Linked DNA regions of Homo sapiens: regions 2, 3 and 4 are each linked to region 1. The links are contacts of gene promoters, found by promoter capture Hi-C in blood cells and fetal thymus (Javierre and others, 2016). All regions are on one chromosome and are shown on one strand. Each heading gives the region's core, a stretch centred on a gene start or on the middle of the fragment in contact. The rest is flanking DNA. Distances are from core to core; before and after follow the strand shown.

Region 1 (2,801 bases), core at 199-2,698:
AAACAAAAAAAAAAACCTGTAGCATGGAATTCCCACCCTCATCAGTCAGAAGAAACAGAATAAGTCAACAAGTGGTCCCAGGAATTATATCATGTCTATGTCAAGAAAAGGCCATTTAACACCCTAGTTGTAAATAGGATTCCATCTAAGAAACCGCCTGGATATTTCAAATGCGCACAGCAAAGAGACAAGACTACCTAAGGGAAGGGTGGGACTAGGGTTCCCACGGTTGTTGGAATAGGCACACCTGAACACCAGGCTTTCAGGCAACAGAGGTGGCCCAGCCTTAACTTTCCCTTTCCAACATAAGTGGCCCCAACCTCCCCCATGCTGCTCAGTACTAAAACCGAATAGGAGCAATGAACTTATCATCTCACCAGGCCATTCTTCCAGACAAGTAGGCCTAAGATGGGGTCTTTCCTTGCTGATCTAAAAGGTCAAGTTGCCCCAAAGGCTTCTTCTTACTGCCAACAAAAAAAATCCTGAGTGCGGGGGATGAGGAAAGTTGTTCAGGAAAGATACAGGCATTTGCCATGACTACTGACCAGAAAGAACTTCTTGAACTACTTGGAACAGGCAGTGCCATGTGTGAATCCTCCATGAACCTCACATGTACAAACCTAGATTTCAACTTGCCCACTTCGGGCCACTCAGTCCTGAGCCAAAGCCTCCAGCCCAGTCCAGCCCGCAGCAAGGCCTTACCTGCTGCAGTGGACTCCTCAGAGTTGGCCCCCGAGCTGGTTCCTGTCGCCTTCTCACTGTGACTATGGCTGAGGCTCTGGCCCTGGTGCAGGAGGAGTCCCCAGAGGAGCCACAGGGCAAGACGGACGCATACATCCATGACTCTAGGTCTCAGTCAACATGCGTCTGATGTGGACACCTCGGGATCCCAGAGGCAAAGCCAGGAGCCCGGGAGTGCAGCCGACGGTCTCCAGGCAAGATGCCCTCGCGGCTCCGCAGCTGTCCAGCCACCCGCGAGCCTGCCCCCTCCAACAGCCAAAGGTCAAGTGCTCCAAGTTTGGGTGCGGGAGGAGGGCTGGCTCCTCAGGTCCAACAGTGGGTCCGCCGGGGCTGCGGCGGCCTGAGCTCGTGCCGCTTCCGGAGACTTCGGGCAGGGTGGCTGCGGGGCTGCTGTCAGCTCCGCAGATTACTACACCCCTGCGGAAGGGGGCGGCCGGAGTCTCCGCGGGCACAGAAGTGGAGGAGGAAGAGAAGAGAAGAGAAGAGAGGCGAGAAGGGGGCACCTGACCTCGCCCTGCCGAAGAGCGGCGAGCAGCAGAAGCTGGGGAGGGCGTGCGACCCGCAGGGTCCTGAGGGCGCGGGCGTCTCCGGGATCCTGGGCCTCCTAGGCCGAGGTCAGCGCCCCCGCCCAGTCCCGTGCCCAGGCGGCTGGCGGTGCCCAGGTCCAGCAGGCGGACGCACACCGGCCAGGCCCAGGACAGCGGCTTCCAGGCGGGCGGGCGGCGCGGGGCGGGCCCGGGGCGGGCGGGGGCGTGCGTCTCCGCGCCCGCCCCGCGCCGCCCGGTCCCCAGCGAAGCCCGGGCCAGCCCCAGCGCCCAGCTGGATCCCGGAATAACCGGTGAAGACGGCTCCCCGGAATCCCCGCCCCTAGCGGGCTCTCCCGGACCCCCGGCCCGCGCTAGTCTTTGCCAGGATCCCGCGCAAAGGATCAAGTCCCAGCTTCCCTTTCCCCACCGAGAGTCTCCAGCGCCAACCGCGGGCCGTCGGGCGGGTCCCTGACCCGCAGTTACTCAGGTAACTCAGGCCTGCGGCGGCGGCGACAGCAGCTGCCCTGCCCCGATCTCCGGGCCTTGGTGCTGCTCCACTCGCCTCAGTTCTAGAGCTGTCTAAACAGAGGCCCAGGACACGACGTTAGCCTCCCAGGAGCTGCCTGAGGCGACAACAGCCTGACCCGGCTCGGCCCGGGGGCGAGCTCCCAGCCCCCAACTCCCGGCCAGTTCCCAGGCTCCGCCCTCGCGCCTCGCCTGACAACCAATCGGCTTCCGCCTCTCTGCGGCTTGGGAACCCGCGCGCTTCGTCGCCCATGCGCAGCGGCCCCTGGTGGGAAAATCAGCAAACTGCAGACAGGACTCGGCGCTCCTGGGAGGGCCTGCTCTTTTGCAGAGGGTTGCCGAGTGAAGCTAAGACCCGCCCCGGGGGAGGCCCACGAGGGCCACTGGGGCCTGCGAGTGTTTTCTGAGGAAATGATGATGCCAGAAAGCAAAATGAAATGTCCAAACCACTCTAGCTAAAATTCCCCTACACATTCCTTGAGTCTGGGCTAAAGGGTGCCATCTGCTTTCCCGACCCCGCCTCCCTTCCCCTCCAAGCTAAGTGGGATGCCCTCCCTTAGCTCTCACAGCCCTTTTTCCTACCTGCCCTCAAGCTCTCAGCCCTTTAAGGTTTTTCGGTGGGGCCTGTAAATGCTTCCTCCCTGCATCTCATTCTCCCAGCTACCTCTCTGGTGGAGGAGGTGTCAGCGACTTGAGAATGAGTGCGCCAAAGAAGACAGAGCCACGCCTGAGCCTCCTTCAACAAAGCCTGCACTTCCTGTTCTCTTCTCAAGCGTGCTGTCAGCAGATCTTGACTGAAACCTCTGTGCCCTACCCTGTCCTTGGCACCAGACGCAGGGGAAAGGATCAGGCCCAGTCCCTCCTCTGACTGACAGTGCTAAACCAGCTACCTGTTCTGAGCAAGGCCCCTGAAGACTGGGAACACGAATTTGCCCAACAGCTGCCTGGCTTAAGGGTTAGGCCGTTGATATAAAAATACATGGCTAATGTAACCTACTACCACTCTCC
Region 2 (2,801 bases), core at 130-2,629, 210 kb before region 1:
GGGGTGGAGGCTGCAGTGAGCCATGTTCATGCTATTGAACTTCAGCCTGGGCAACAGAGCAAGACCCAGAGTCAAAATAATAATAATAATAATAAATAGAAATAAATGAAAAGACAAGACTTCATTTCCTTTTACATGAATTCCTGCAAAGACTTCCCAACTAGAGTCCCTAGGCTTCCAGAATCATTTTCTAAAAGACAGTCTTGAATAGACCTCTCCTCTTCTCGAAAACAAAACAACCAAAAAAACCTGATTTGACTCTCTATTGCCTTCTGCATCCTACTAACTTCCCCACATGCATCTTAAGGTTCCAGGGATCTGACCCCACCCTATACACTCAACCTTAACACCTAGGACCTCGCTACCCATCTTTAAAGGCTACCTCCTCAGAGTCCCACATCCACTCATCCACCTCTTTGTCTTTCTAGACATTAGCATTCTTATCCTATAAGCTGAGTCTGGAACTAAGTCTGCATTAAGTGTGCTCTCACTGCTGCTTCTTGTGGGTGTGTAAGTTTTTTTTCTCAGGACCAGTGAATTTCTCATAACTGCCATCACAGAACTGGTTCCTAGACGTCAGGACTGACTGACTGACTGACGGGCACTCTCTTTTCACAGTTAAATCTTCTGCCATAGTTTTGAAGTCACATTTTATTTTAACAGAATCCCAGACCATCTGAGTTGGAAGTGTTCTCCTAGGAGAGTTTAGCATTCTCCAAGGTCAATCCCTTCATATTACCAATGAGGAAATAAATCCTGGGAGGGAAAGAAATTTATCCAAAGTTATATAGCAAGTTAGTGTTTATGAGATTTAGACTCCTTATAAGAAAGAACTAAGGACAGTAAGAAGGAAGGTTTTGAGGTTTCTTTGGGGAACAGTAAAGAACAGTTCATTACATCTATTTATATGCTAGGAGAAGCAGTCCAGAGACAGGCAGAAGGAAGAATGACCCCATAACAAGCAATGGGAAGCTCAAGACCTCTGGCAGCTACACATTTCTCCCTCTGAAGCTAAGAGGCAAAAAAGATAGAAACAAGTTTCTCCCCAGGAGGAATAACTGCCCAATAGCAATTGGAATATCAGCAACCTAAACTTGCAATGCAGTTTTGGAAGGATGATGCAGCCTGGGCTGCCATGCTGACAAGGTCTCAGGGGCCAAGTGGCTCACACCCAGGTGGAAATAGGAGGTTCCCAAGAACTGGCAGGGCCTCACCTTTCCTGAAGGGGCAGGCCTTACCTTTCCTGAAGGTCATGCAGACTCTGCTCAGCTCGGTGTAACCCCTCCAAGTCCTTCATCATCTTCTTCATGTGCTCCTTGGAGTAACGGTTCTGGATATAGGCAAACCAGCAGCCGCCCACACCAATAACGATAGACACCACCAGCATGAAGTCCTTGAGGTGATTATGGCGAGTCACTGCCAGAGAGGGGAGGGCATGATGAGTTAGGGTGCCCACTGCACACTTAGCCTTGCAGACTCCACTGCATCCCTCCTCTATGAAGCCTTCCATAACAGACACACTCTCCCACTGAGAAGGAATTAGTTTCTCTTCTTAGATACACACTTGCCATACACTATTACAGTAAGCTCTATGTCTATCTCTCTGCTAGCCAAGGCTTTGTTTTGAAATGAGAGGCCTTACAGCAATACAGGATGCTTATTAAATCACACTTTCTTAAGATGCAGTGAAGAGGAGAGAACTAGTGCCTTCTCAATATGCCCCAGCCATCTCTGGGCTGGATGAGCCCATATGCCAAGATGTAGTGGCTTCTGTCATACAGGGTAAGCAATTCTAAAGTTCCACAGTAGGTAAATGGAGATGACTGGTATAAAGGATATAAAGCAATGTCACCAGAAGCCTCAGTTCTGGCTGTAGGACTGAAGTCACTGTAGGAACTAGGTATCCTGGACTACCAGGCCATTCTTGGCACAGATCAGGGAAAGGTCCAGAAGTCTCAATCTATGGAGAACATTTCTAGGCTACTGTGAAATCCAGAGACTCTAGAACAGGATAGCATGAATACATTCATATGGATGAGACATTATACCTACCAGAAATTGAGGGGCAGAGCTATTTTCAGAGAACACCTGGTAGCAATTCAGTGAACCACGAGGGCCCCAGCCACCAGCTGGGGTTCAAAGAATGCCCATTGTCCAGAGCAAAATTTAAATGTTAAACAAGAAATGACACCACAAGATAAAAAGCAAAAGCCACATCCTAAAAACTTAGCCAATCAGGAGAGAGGCATTTCTGGAACTAACATTGTTCCTGGTATACCAGATCTGGGCTCTGTGCCACAGCACAAAAGACTTGAAAGGGGCACTATAAGAAGGAGACAGCTACTCCTGCATCCTCTGTCTAGGTTTTGCTGTGGGCTCAGAGGAGCCCTGGATGTGGGAGTCAGAGAAAGAGGGAAAAAAGGGAGTTATGCCAGGGCTAATGACCCTCTGTGCACAGCAAGTTGCCCTTAAACAGCAGAGAAGGAGGTAGGACTGGCATGATCCTTGGACATAGTAAGGACATGGGGCTGGTGGAAATCCAAAAGGACCCAGGTAGAGCCACCAAGTTAAGGGAAGGTCAAGACACCAGAAAAAGAAACCATATGATACTGATGCCTATAGTTTGACAAGAAGAGTTACCATCATAGCTCCTCACAGAAAGGCTGAGCAGCAGAACATGGGGATGAGATGGGATCAAAGACAGATTAACACATCCTATTTCCACCCAAGGGAGGGGGGTCACTAGGTCAGGGTGGTGGCCATGTCCTTCATATGTTTATTCCAGGCTCTCTGAAAGAAAA
Region 3 (2,801 bases), core at 203-2,702, 160 kb before region 1:
GAAAGATCTAACTAGACATTTCTCAAAAGAAGACAAACAAGACTGAGCACAGTGGTTCATGCCTGTAATCACGGCACTTTGGGAAGCGAAAGTGGGAGGATCACTTGAGATCAGGATTTTGAGACCAGCCTGGGCAGCATAGGGAGACTCCGCCTGTGCAAAAAATTAAAAAAAAAAAATTAGCCAGGTGTGGTGGTTTATGCCTGTGGTCCCAGCTATAGGCTGAAGCTAGAGCCTGAGGTCAGAGGATCACTTGAGCCTGGGAGATCAAGGTTGTAGTGAGTTGTGATCATGCCACTGTACTCCAGCCTGGGTGACAGAGCGAGACCTTGTCTCAGAGAAAAAAGAAAAAAAAAAGTCCAAAAGATATGTGAAAAATATGCTCAATATCACTAATCATCAGGGAAATGGAAATCAAAACCACAATGAGATATCATCTCACCCCAGTTAGTATGGCTATTACCAAAAAAATAACAAATAACAAATGCTGCCAAGGATATAGAGAAAGGGAAACCCTTACACACTGTTGGTGGCAGTGTAAATTAGTACAGTCACCATATAAAACAGTATGGAGGTTCCTCAAAACATGAAAAATAGAACTACCATATGATCCAGAAATCCCACTATTCGGTACACATCCAAAGGAAATGAAATCAGCATGTTGAAGAGACATCTTCACTTCCATGTTTATTGCAGCACTATTCACAATAGCCAAGATATAGAATCAACCTCAGGGCCCATCAGCAAATGAATGTTTAAAGAAAATGTCGTATATTTACACAACAGCATACCATTCAGCCATAAAGAAAAAAAGAATGAAATTCTGTCATTTGTGGCAACATGGATGTGCCTCGAGGACATTATGCTAAGTGAAATAAGCCAGGCACAAAAAATAAATACCACATGTTCTCACTCATATATGGAATCTTAAAAAGCTGATCTCATAGAAGTAGAACGTAGGATAGTGGTTACCAGAATCTGGGAAGGGTAGACAGGGAGATGGGGAGAGATTGGTCAGTGGGTACAAATTTACAGTTGGGAGGGTAAGTTTATAAGTTCTAGTGTTCCATTGCACAGTAGGGTGATTTTAGTTAACAATAATATAGTGTATATTTCAAAATAGCTAGAAGAAAGGATTTTGAATGTTCACCACAAAGAAATGATATATGTTTGAGATGACAGATATACTAATTTTACCCCCTAATTTGATCATTATACATTGTATACATGTATCAAAACATCACACTGTATCCTATAAATATGTACAATTTTTTTGGATGGTTGGTTGGTTGGTGGGGTTTTTTGTTGTTGTTGTTTTTGAGACAGTGTCTCGCTCTGTCACCCAGGCTGGGTGATCCTCCTGCCTCAGCTTCCCAAGTAACTTGGACTATGGGTGTGCACCACGGTACCGAGCTATTTTTTTAAATTTTTTGTACACACGGTGTCTCACTATGTTTCCCAAGCTGGTCTCAAACTCCTGAGCTCAAGCAATCCTCCTGCCTCAGCCTCCCAAAGTGCTCGGATTACAGGCGTCAGCCACCATGCCTGGCCAATATGTACAACTGTTATGTATCAGTTACAAATAAAATAAAATTTTAAAAATGTTTTTAAATAAAATATAATTTAAATAAAGAAAAAAACAGCAGGGAAGAGGAATAGGAGATGCCAAGAGTAGTGGTATTCACAATTTGTCATTTTAATGAGAGGAATCAAGGTGTCATTAAGAAGCTGACTTCATTTTCTTCATTTTTATTTTATGTACAAACAGCTAATATGATTTTTCATTGTGTGGATGCCTTGGATAATCCATTCAAGGAAGATCACTTAGTCCAATTTAATGAAACCTATATCCTTCACGTACTGATGGCAACACTGGAGGCACATATTGAGGCTATATTTCCAGATCAGACCATGCTGGTTTGAGCAGATGCAACAAGAGCGAGAACTCTGGCCAGATTTTTGTGGGTGGCTCCAGCAGAGCTGCTTGTGATCCATTTTGCCTTCAGGAGTGCAACAAGGCAAAAGATAAGAAGGTGACTTCAAAGCAAATATTTAAAAGAGGTGTGGGAGAAAGGCATGCAGAATAACTGGGAGAAGAGTATCCCAAGAATGGAGAAGGGCAGAAGCAAAGTCCCTGAGGCAAGAGAATATACTTGGTATGTTCAAGGAATAACAAGAAGGCCAGTATCGTTGGAGAGAAATGAGTAAGGTGGTAACCAGCAGGAGATGAACTCAAAGAAGCCACAGGGTTCCAGAACACAGATCCCCCTTTTATGCCTTTTTTTTTTTTTTTTTTTGAGACAGAGTTTCATTCTTATTGCCCAGGCTGGAGTGCAGGGGCACAAACCTGGCTCACCGCAACCTCCACCTCCCAGTTTCAAGCAATTCTCCTGCCTCAGCCTCCCGAGTAGCTGGGATTACAGGCATGCACCACCACTCCTGGCTAATTTTGTTTGTTTTTTTTTTTTTTTTTTTTTTTTTTTTGAGACGGAGTCTCGCTCTGTCGCCCAGGCCGGACTGCGGACTGCAGTGGCGCAATCTCGGCTCACTGCAAGCTCCGCTTCCCGGGTTCACGCCATTATCCTGCCTCAGCCTCCCGAGTAGCTGGGACTACAGGCGCCCGCCACCGCGCCCGGCTAATTTTTTTTTGTATTTTTAGTAGAGACGGGGTTTCACCTTGTTAGCCAGGATGGTCTCGATCTCCTGACCTCATGATCCACCCGCCTCGGCCTCCCAAAGTGCTGGGATTACAGGCGTGAGCCACCGCGCCCAGCCAATTTTGTATTTTTTAATAGAGATGG
Region 4 (2,801 bases), core at 221-2,720, 140 kb after region 1:
TCTCTGCTCAGTGATTAACTTAAGATTTGCTCATGTGGGTTCATGCACAGTAAATTCTGCCTTTATTGACTACCTGATGTGCAGTTTAATCTTTTTCTTTACCTCCATGGTTTTTTAAAAGTTAAATTAGCTTTCTGAAAGGGTTTTTAATCTCCATTTTTTTAAAGTTGTTTGCTTATACTTCGGGTAACCTTGATATTTGTATTTTAATAGTACATAATCTTTATGAAAAATAGTTTGGGAATGTAAATGAATTATTATTTGGCTTGGGGAGATTAGGGCCTACATTGTTTATCGCAATTACTTGTATCATTGATACGGGATTTCTTTGTAAAGCATCCTCTACCTCTCAGCTGCTGAAAGCTAGACCTTTGGTATTTTCCATGCTATAATTCTTATGGCTGCTGAAATGTGTGGTTTTTATGATTTATTAAATAATCTCTTAGGAGGCATTTCTGGAGAATGTGTGTATATACATGTTTGCGCGTACAGGGGAGGGGAGGGTATGATAAATGTGGGAAACTGGAAATATATTGACTTTTATGTTTATAATCTTGGTAGCATTTAGAATGCCCCTAAGAAATCTCCATTGACAAATGAAATGCTATAGACTTGGTTTTCCAGTTATCCATATTCATTTTGTCTGTCATATGCTTTGTATCATCTCCTTCTTTCCTAATTTTTTATAACCTTATATATATATTTATTATAAATATATGTATTTCTGAGGGAAAGAGTCAGATGGCCTTATTTTCTGTAACAAAAGTAATATGTAGGATCTTAAAGATAACCTCTTTCCAGTTGGCCCAGCTGAAAAAGAAAAGCTTCATTTATGGACAGACAGGAAAATGTTTGTAATGTTGACAGTAGTTTCTAGGTTCTTTAATTGCCAGAATAGAAATAGTAGAAAAATAACTATAAACTCCTATATTGACACTTGTGTTTGTGAGAGCTCTTTGAAAAATTGAGCACCCAAAAATTTCAGATCAAGGTTCTAGCAAAAAGAGGTAGTAAGGATTTAAAATGGGCAAGTAGCTTTTTTTTTCCTTGAGAAAGAGTTGTCGCCCAGGCTGTAGTGCACTGGTGCAGTCTCGGCTCTCTGTGGCCTCTGCCTCCCAGGTTCAAGCAGCCTCATTCCTCAGCCTCCCAAGCAGCTGGGACTACAGGGCATACCACCACACTCATCTAATTTTTTGTATTTTTAGTAGAGAGGGGATTTTGCCATGTTGGCCTCAACTCATGTTGTCTTGAACTCCTGGCCTCAAGTGATCCTCCCACCTTGGCCTCCCAAAGTGCTGGGACTACAGGCGTGAGTCACCATGGCTAGCCTAAAATGGGCAAGTAGCTTTGACTGAGGAAGTGGAAATGGTCTTTGACCTTTTGGTTGGGAAGAGCAGAAATGAGAGAAATGGATAGAGGTATTTAAATGTCCAGACTTTAGGTTTTGTTTACTTGCATTATTTTCTAAGGCCTTGAGCTTGGTATGTTGGAGCAGAAATGTAGGACTCTAGAGAATTCTTTCATATTTATTGCTCACTGACCCAAGTGAAGCTGATGGGAAATGCCAGTGGTTTGTTATTAGCACCAAAGACCCTACATTTTACTTTGCATGGGGAAACTACTTGTGCCGTTTGAGTATACTGGAAATAGCAGTCTTCTCATCTCTGTGTCAAGATGACTGCATACCATCACCTCACCCCTTAAAGAGGTTGATTGCAAAACTTCAGCTTCTTTTTTTCTTGGGGGAGAGAGGCCTGTTTCTTTAGGTATTTAGGAAGATGTGTATTTTTCTTTAATGGTCACATTTGTTCCATTACCTTTTATATAATATCGTCAGTCCCCTGTTTCCAGTTGGTTCTTAAGCCTCGCTTTTGCTCTTAAAAAAAGCAAGTAAATCTAAGCAACCAGAAAACATAAAGGTAACTAAATTTTCATGTGATCTTCTCTCCTGTACCTTTTAGGTTAGAGAAAATGTTGGTTGGCAGATAAACCTTAGTCACAGAGATGAATTAAGGTAGTTGCAGAGTATTTTGTTCTGTGGTTAGAACATTAGTTTCAAAATCCTGGTCTGGGATCCAATTTCCAGCTGGCTGCATCAATGCCCTGGTAAGCTTGACTTAGATTCCACAGATTTGGCATGGGGCTCAGGCATATTTATATTTTAATGCTTCTCCCCAGGTGGTTGAAATGTGCAATCAGGTTTCAAAACTATGTTGAAAGACCTCAGGCCTTTGGCACTCAGGTAGAGATACGTGTAGGTTTTTACCTCAGCCTTTTTTTTTTTTTTTGTAAACTTTTTTTTTTTAAATTATTATTGTACTTTAAGTTTTAGGGTACATGTGCACAGTGTGCAGGTTAGTTACATATGTATACATGTGCCATGCTGCTGTGCTGCACCCATTAACTCGTCATTTAGCATTAGGTATATCTCCTAAAGCTATACCCTCCCCCCTCCCCCCTCCCCCCACCCCACAACAGTCCCCAGAGTGTACCTCAGCCTTATAACTGAAGTGTAACTTGTGTTCAGTAACATCAAGGCAGGCTAATTGGCTTGCTCAGAAACTTAGCATTGTTCACTAAGTGAATTTAAGTTAATGACTTTTTTTTTTTTTCTGAGGCAAAGTTTTCCTATGTTCCTCAGGCTGGTTGAACTCTTGGGACCAAGCAATCCTTCCCACCTCAACCTCCCAAGTAACTGGGACTGCAGGTGCATGCCATCATGCCAGCTAATTTATTTATTTATTGTTTTAGAGACAGGATCTTGCTGTGTTGCCCAGGCTGGTCTCAGATTCTTGGCCGAA

Evidence for each region. Contacts are between HindIII fragments. The CHiCAGO score rates a contact against its expected background, and 5 or more counts as called.
Region 2: a contact is called between a fragment that was not itself captured here and the fragment with the promoter of STIM1 in region 1, in 17 of 17 cell types (total CD4 T cells, M0 macrophages, total B cells and 14 more). The highest score is 86.5, in total CD4 T cells.
Region 3: a contact is called between a fragment that was not itself captured here and the fragment with the promoter of STIM1 in region 1, in 11 of 17 cell types (activated CD4 T cells, total CD4 T cells, naive B cells and 8 more). The highest score is 10.1, in activated CD4 T cells.
Region 4: a contact is called between a fragment that was not itself captured here and the fragment with the promoter of STIM1 in region 1, in 1 of 17 cell types (naive CD8 T cells). The highest score is 5.3, in naive CD8 T cells.

What each region holds. Positions count from the first base shown.
Region 1 is chr11:3,854,311-3,857,111 of GRCh38, reverse strand. STIM1 (stromal interaction molecule 1) reads right to left here and starts at 1,448. Exons shown (of 13, transcript NM_001382567.1): 1 at 703-1,448. The coding sequence starts at 841. It overlaps STIM1-AS1 (STIM1 antisense RNA 1), which reads left to right and starts at 1,534. Exons shown (of 2, transcript NR_183662.1): 1 at 1,534-1,755; 2 at 2,454-2,789. MIR4687 (microRNA 4687) reads right to left here and starts at 1,050; the gene lies at 971-1,050. RefSeq lists enhancers at 533-582, 593-672, 823-1,032, 1,248-2,193, 2,403-2,472 and silencers at 1,253-1,412, 1,473-1,532, 2,013-2,062. The HindIII fragment of the contact is 6,805 bases long and covers 1-2,801 here.
Region 2 is chr11:4,068,641-4,071,441 of GRCh38, reverse strand. It overlaps STIM1 (stromal interaction molecule 1), which reads right to left. Exons shown (of 13, transcript NM_001382567.1): 6 at 1,239-1,416. Among named protein-coding and RNA genes, the nearest start is that of RRM1, 25 kb to the left of the region's middle. The HindIII fragment of the contact is 4,183 bases long and covers 1-2,801 here.
Region 3 is chr11:4,018,142-4,020,942 of GRCh38, reverse strand. The region is part of intron 2 of STIM1 (stromal interaction molecule 1); the gene reads right to left. It also overlaps the pseudogene RPS29P20. Among named protein-coding and RNA genes, the nearest start is that of RRM1, 75 kb to the left of the region's middle. The HindIII fragment of the contact is 6,145 bases long and covers 1-2,801 here.
Region 4 is chr11:3,709,486-3,712,286 of GRCh38, reverse strand. All of the region lies in intron 20 of NUP98 (nucleoporin 98 and 96 precursor), which reads left to right. Among named protein-coding and RNA genes, the nearest start is that of CHRNA10, 40 kb to the right of the region's middle. The HindIII fragment of the contact is 1,287 bases long and covers 827-2,113 here.